Regions from separate parts of the Homo sapiens genome. Here region 1 is linked to region 2. The links are contacts of gene promoters, found by promoter capture Hi-C in blood cells and fetal thymus (Javierre and others, 2016). All regions are on one chromosome and are shown on one strand. Each heading gives the region's core, a stretch centred on a gene start or on the middle of the fragment in contact. The rest is flanking DNA. Distances are from core to core; before and after follow the strand shown.

Evidence for each region. Contacts are between HindIII fragments. The CHiCAGO score rates a contact against its expected background, and 5 or more counts as called.
Region 1: a fragment that was not itself captured here is called in contact with the fragment with the promoter of CLEC12A-AS1 in region 2 in 1 of 17 cell types (neutrophils); the score reaches 5.0 in neutrophils.

The regions. Positions count from the first base shown.
Region 1 is chr12:10,607,168-10,610,667 of GRCh38, reverse strand. MAGOHB (mago homolog B, exon junction complex subunit) reads left to right here. Exons shown (of 5, transcript NM_018048.5): 2 at 1-46; 3 at 727-837; 4 at 2,732-2,814. Among named protein-coding and RNA genes, the nearest start is that of MAGOHB, 4.7 kb to the left of the region's middle. The HindIII fragment of the contact is 3,788 bases long and covers 1-3,500 here.
Region 2 is chr12:9,951,017-9,954,601 of GRCh38, reverse strand. CLEC12A-AS1 (CLEC12A antisense RNA 1) reads left to right here and starts at 1,265. Exons shown (of 3, transcript NR_135047.1): 1 at 1,265-2,052; 2 at 2,523-3,585. It overlaps LOC124902874 (a long non-coding RNA gene), which reads right to left and starts at 2,945. Exons shown (of 2, transcript XR_007063207.1): 1 at 1,565-2,945. It also overlaps a transcript of CLEC12A not described here. The HindIII fragment of the contact is 17,088 bases long and covers 1-3,585 here.

The DNA.
Region 1 (3,500 bases), core at 639-3,138, 660 kb before region 2:
TGCCAACAACAGCAATTACAAAAATGATGTCATGATCAGAAAAGAGGTAAGTTCTATGTGAATGTCTTTTTTTTTTTTTTTTTTTTTTTTGCATTTAGCCCATTTTCTTCAAGTCTGTGTTGAATTTAAAAAAGTACATCTAAGGCTATATTGTAAAGAAGAAGGCAATTTATAGATTGAAAGAGTTTCCATTTAAATTAGATACAGTGTTTGCATCCATAGGAATGAGAAAGTTCAGAGAACTAACCTTGACGTGAACTACACTTGCATTTATTGATTTATTGATTTAGGGACAGAGTCTCGCTCTGTTACCCAAGCTGGAGTGCAGTGGCTTGATCTCAGCTCACTGCAACCTCTGCCTCCCAGGCTCAAGCGATTCTCCTGCCTCAGTATACTTGCATTTATTACAGTTCACCTTATAGATCTTGTGATGACACAAGTTAACCACTTGTGGGTATTTGGATCTCAGTGTTGCAAAGGCAGAATACAGTGTTTGAAAGACAGGTAATGATGAGAAGAGGGAAAAAATGTATGTGAAAGGAAAGGGCAAGAGATGAAGAAAAGCAGTGTAACAAGGATAAGTGATTCTGTCTCCTCTACTTTTGGAATCAATTAAATTTTTCTATATTCCTCTATTTGGATATTCAGGGTTTGTAACTCATTTCTTTCTGAGTTGAGGGGTGACATAGGTGGGCATTATCTCATTTTATTATGATTAATTTTTAGGCTTATGTGCACAAGAGTGTAATGGAAGAACTGAAGAGAATTATTGATGACAGTGAAATTACAAAAGAAGATGATGCTTTGTGGCCTCCCCCTGATAGGGTTGGCCGACAGGTTTGTATTTAGTGATTCTTTAAGTGTATAAATATTAAAAATTGATAATACTATTTTGTTTCCCGTTATTTATTTGGAATGAGTCTAAGTTGATTCTTTGGCTTTCTATTTAATAGGCACCTGGTAAATTCTCTTTAATTTTATCTCTTAGTTCTGTTTTTCTGTGCTACCTCCTAGTAGTGAAGGAGTCAGTGCATAGCTCTAAATTTAGACATCTTTCTCTGTAGTCACCCCAGCCAACGTTAGGATGTTTTCACAATGCAGTGTTATGAATAATTTCTGTTGTGTGTTAATCACTTTTATTAAGAATATGACTATGTAAAATTTATTTTTGCCAAATCATAACTTCTAAAATTCTTACTTGCATCCCTATACCCCAGAGAGAAACTTGATTGGTGGTTTCTTTGTTAAAACTGATGATTGCATTTCCCTCTCATATTCCTTCAGAATAAATGATGTTTCTCAGGCTTCTGAAGAACTCTGAAGGCCTAATTTCACTCTGTAAAAAGAAAGTTTGGTTTCTGAATTGGGTCTTTTCAACTCTTGGAGAAATTCCTTCAACAACCCCTGGAAGGAAGAAACATTTAATTTCACTTTTGTATATCCCTGAGGATTGTACTTTGTATCACCTTCTTTGAATAGAAGAAAATGTGGAGAAATCTAACACATGCTGACACTCTGTAGGAGTAACTTAAGTCTTCTGCTTAAAGAAGCATTATTTAGAAAAGCAAAGGTAATAGTTAACAGTATTTATTTTAAGCATCGTATCACTTTTAAAAAGTAAATTTAGGCCTCAGTTTGTTTTATGCAGATACACATATGTACTAAAAAGCAAACCACAGCAGCTAACCTTTTATATCATTTAGACTCAGGGAGAGCCTAGTATTTTATCTATTCACTTAAGGATGTGTTCATGGGTTTTGGTTAGTGGGGAGGAGTAGGCATGCTTCAGAAATTGCCTTTTGTATCAAGTCAAAGGTTTTATGGCTGTTAGAGCATCTTAGCTAATTCTCCATTCTGTGTGTGTCATAAACTGCATAATTAGGCCTCTGATTAAATAAATAGCTAGGATTGTCTTCAATAGTGTCTGTTAACTTGAAGATTCATTACAGATATAGCTTTTTAATTATTGGTTTTAGGCCTGCAGATAAACAATATAGGGAAAAATCTATACAGTAATTACAGCACACTAGGAACATCTACATTAGGTTGGTTTTTTTTTTTTTTTTTTACTAGTTCTTAATTTTAGTTATTTTGTGGAGTATTAGTTTTGAAGTCTTACCATCTTGGGATCAAATATAAGTACCATCATTATTAGTGGTTATAAATATCAACAAGTATTTTCTTCTGCTCTATGAGTTTTGGATTACACATTTGTAAAATAGGTTAGTAAGGTTATTTTCAAGATTACAGAGAGTACAAAGTCCCTACCACTAGGGCCTGACATACAGTAGGTGCTAAAGTGGTGGTGGTTATTAATATTACACATTTTATTTGTAGAATCTTCCAGAAAGAAAAAATGTGTATTTATCATATTAAAAATGGTCTTATACTCCAATCATTTTTACAACATGTGCTTCAAAGTGATGTCTTTAGTTTTTACTGACATTGTAAGAAATATTTCTTTGTCATTTTGTTTCATAGTGTCTTCTTTATGTCTCTGGAAAGCAATTCTTTGTTGGTCCTAAACTTGGGGGTAGTGCGCGTGAGCAGTCTTTATTTTAAGGATATAGTTTATATCTAAGAAACCATGTTTCTTTCCCCCTCGCCCCCCACTCCCTCTGTTGGCTGCTAGAAAACTTGCAACTAAAATTGGGATCTGCTTGTAGCAAGAATACAGATACCTCTGGGATAGATTTTTATATTAACTACATTTTTCTGCTATATTTTTTAGGAGCTTGAAATTGTAATTGGAGATGAGCACATATCTTTTACCACATCAAAAATAGGTTCTCTTATTGATGTAAATCAGTCAAAGTAAGTATGTTAAAGCATTTTGGCGAAGTTTTCATTATTACAGAGGCTCATTTTAGAACTATAGTCAGTTTGCTAGCCAAGATAATTTCAGTGGCATCCTATCAGTTTATTATGCAGATGTAATCCTGATTTTTATGTCATTAAAGGCTTATTATCTTGTCTCTCAGTAGAAGTTAGCAGAGTATTTCATTGATTGTCCAAAAACTTTTAATCCAACAGCTGTATATAATAATGCCCAAGTTGTATTAGCTACTTTGTATAAAAATGTGGATACAGTATCAGCAAATCCAAAGGAAAGAAATCCTTATTGGATTATGTCAGCCTCATTAGGCCTATATCATCTCACTGTCCTTCTTGGGCTCAATACTTGGGAAAAAGATGGAAAAAATCCATTATGGCCTAAGTATGCTTTAGCTATCGATGTCTTCCCAAGATCTGTCTCTCCTCTGCCCCAGGGTTTTGTAGCACATCCCATTTTCTTGGTCTGATCCTAGCCACTTATTTTTATTTGTGCCCATTCCCCTCAAAGTGTCCCCATAGTGCTCTTACTTTTTTCTGTCACCCTGAATTGTAATAACCTATTTGTCTGCTTTACTGGTTTGAATGTAAGCTCCTTGAGAACCTTGCTGTATCCACAGAGTTAGCATAGTGCCCTGCACATAATAGATGCTTTCAATAAATATTTG
Region 2 (3,585 bases), core at 16-2,515:
CATGTTCACATGGTTGAACTTTATTTGTTCTGATAGGTAATCCAATAAAGGTTGTGAAACAAAATTTTGAATAAAGCAGTTTCCATGATAGTTTGATTATTTTTTTTTTTGAGACAGGATCTCCGTCACCCAGGCTGGAAGTGCAGTGGTGTGATCAAGGCTCACTGCAGCCTCAACCTCCCAGGCTCAGGTAATCCTCCCACCTCAGCCTCCTGAGTAGCTGGGACTACAGGTATGCACCATTACACCCAGCTAATATTTGTATTTTTTGTAGAGACAGGGTTTCACCATGTTGCCCAGGCTGGTCTCGAACTCCTGGGCTCAAGTATCTGCCCACCTCAGTTTCTTGCGCCCAGCTGACAGTTTGATTTTTTTTTTTTTTTTTTTTTTTTTTTTATTGATAATTCTTGGGTGTTTCTCACAGAGGGGATTTGGCAGGGTCATGGGACAATAGTGGAGGGAAGGTCAGCAGATAAACAAGTGAACAAAGGTCTCTGGTTTTCCTAGGCAGAGGACCCTGCGGCCTTCCGCAGTGTTTGTGTCCCTGATTACTTGAGATTAGGGATTGGTGATGACTCTTAACGAGCATGCTGCCTTCAAGCATCTGTTTAACAAAGCACATCTTGCACCGCCCTTAATCCATTTAACCCTGAGTGGACACAGCACATGTTTCAGAGAGCACAGGGTTGGGGGTAAGGTCACAGATCAACAGGATCCCAAGGCAGAAGAATCTTTCTTAGTGCAGAACAAAATGAAAAGTCTCCCATGTCTACTTCTTTCTACACAGACACGGCAACCATCCCATTTCTCAATCTTTTCCCCACCTTTCCCGCCTTTCTATTCCACAAAGCCGCCATTGTCATCCTGGCCCGTTCTCAATGAGCTGCTGGGCACACCTCCCAGACGGGGTGGTGGCCGGGCAGAGGGGCTCCTCACTTCCCAGTAGGGGCGGCCGGGCAGAGGCGCCCCTCACCTCCCGGACGGGGCGGCTGGCCGGGCAGGGGGCTGACCCCCCCACCTCCCTCCCGGACGGGGCGGCTGGCCAGGCAGAGGGGCTCCTCACTTCCCAGTAGGGGGCGGCCGGGCAGAGGCGCCCCTCACCTCCCGGACGGGGCGGCTGGCTGGGCGGGGGGGCTGACCCCCCCCACCTCCCTCCCGGACGGGGCGGCTGGCCAGGCGGGGGGCTGACCCCCCCACCTCCCTCCCGGACGGGGCGGCTGGCCAGGCGGGGGGCTGACCCCCCCACCTCCCTCCCGGACGGGGCAGCTGGCTGGGCGGGGGGGCTGACCCCCCATCTCCGTCCCAGACGGGGTGGCTGGCCGGGCTGAGGGGCTCCTCACTTCCCAGTAGGGGGGGGCGGGCAGAGGCGCCCCTCACCTCCTGGACGGGGCGGCTGGCCGGGCAGGGGGCTGACCCCCCCACCTCCCTCCCGGACGGCATGGCTGGCCAGGCGGGGGGCTGACCCCCCACCTCCCTCCCGGATGGGGCGGCTGGCCGGGCGGAGGGCTAACCCCCCCCACCTCCCTCCCGGACGGGGTGGCTGCTGGGCGGAGACGCTCCTCACTTCCCAGATGGGGTGGCTGCCGGGCGGAGAGGCTCCTCACTTCTCAGACGGGGCGGCTGCCGGGCGGAGGGGCTCCTCACTTCTCAGACGGGGTGGTTGCCAGGCAGAGGGTCTCCTCACTTCTCAGACGGGGCGGCCGGGCAGAGACGCTCCTCACCTCCCAGACGGGGTCTCGGCCGGGCAGAGGCGCTCCTCACATCCCAGATGGGGCGGCGGGGCAGAGGCGCTCCCCACATCTCAGACGATGGGCGGCCGGGCAGAGACGCTCCTCACTTCCTAGATGTGATGGCGGCTGGGAAGAGGCGCTCCTCACTTCCTAGATGGGATGGCGGCCGGGCGGAGACGCTCCTCACTTTCCAGACTGGGCAGCCAGGCAGAGGGGCTCCTCACATCCCAGACGATGGGTGGCCAGGCGGAGACACTCCTCACTTCCCAGACGGGGTGGCGGCCGGGCAGAGGCTGCAATCTCGGCACTTTGGGAGGCCAAGGCAGGTTGCTGGGAGGTGTAGGTTGTAGTGAGCCGAGATCACGCCACTGCACTCCAGCCTGGGCACCATTGAGCACTGAGTGAACGAGACTCCGTCTGCAATCCCGGCACCTCGGGAGGCCAAGGCTGGCGGATCACTCGCGGTTAGGGGCTGGAGACCGGCCCGGCCAACACAGCGAAACCCCGTCTCCACCAAAACCAGTCAGGCGTGGTGGTGCGTGCCTGCAATCGCAGGCACTCGGCAGGCTGAGGCAGGAGAATCAGGCAGGGAGGTTGCAGTGAGCCGAGATGGCAGCAGTACAGTCCAGCTTCGGCTCCACATGAGAGGGAGACCGTGGGGAGAGGGAGAGGGAGACGGAGAGGGAGAGGGAGAGGGAGACGGAGAGGGAGAGGGAGAGGGAGACGGAGAGGGAGAGGGAGAGGGAGAGGGAGAGCGCTCACATCCTGTTTTTTTTTTTTTCCTTGAGACAGGGTCTGACAGTTTGATTTTTAAAGGCCAAATCTCTCCAGACTCCAAAGAACTCTGTAGCCAAACAGCAGCACATACTAATCAGGCCTGCCTGTCCTTAGAGCAGCAGCATAGAAGCCTGGAGACATGGACTTCCATCCCATATTCACATTCAACAGCAAAATAAATCCAAATATAAGGCAGTGCTACAATTCAAAGACTGTCTGAGATCAGATGAGATTGGGCATGTTCAGCGTGATACGGGTAGAGATGTTCCCTCACTCCACTGGCCCACAGCCACATGCAGACCAACCCTGAAGAATACACCCAAGCGGTCTGCACTCAGATCAAACCCTGATCTCCCACAACTACATCAACACACAAACAACCACCAGAATACAATCTAACTGCTGCAACAATAAGCAAGTCCCAAGAGAGTCCAAACTGAAACAGTTGAGTTGCTTTCTCCCTGTTTGTTGGGCTAGTTCAATCTGCAAATGGAGATTCCTTCGGAATTTCTCAAATTGAGAAAAGCAGATCCTGCTGTCTGGACCCACAAATGACACTCACTTATCCAGACACATACTCAATTACTAACAAGCCCCAAGAGTGTCTGAACTGGAACAGTCAGGGTGCTTCCTCTCTCCGTCAGTTGGCCTTGCTGAACTTGCCAATGGAAATTCCTTCAGAATTTCTCAAATTGAGAGGAGCCATTCCCACTGTCGGTATCCACAAAAGACACTCACCTATCCACATGCAGAAGTCAAATTTGAAAGGCTGTTCTTCCTAGGCAATCAGAAATGTGGTTGGGGCTGGCAGCAGCAATGCTAAATAGAAAGACTAAAACCCACATCCTGCCTAAAACACATAGGCTGCTGCTTAGGGTTGCGGAAATTCTCCCAACTGGTGACAGCCAAGCCAAGAGCAATGTCTTCCTGATGAGGGAACCAAAATCTGTTACTGAAATGCCAGAGGTTCAGCCTAGGTCCCGTTACTCATTGCACAGAATGCCAATCACTGAGGCAAGTATTTCCAGGGGAGATGACTTTATTCAGTTGCTGCAGCTGAGAAGAACTGCAGATCAGT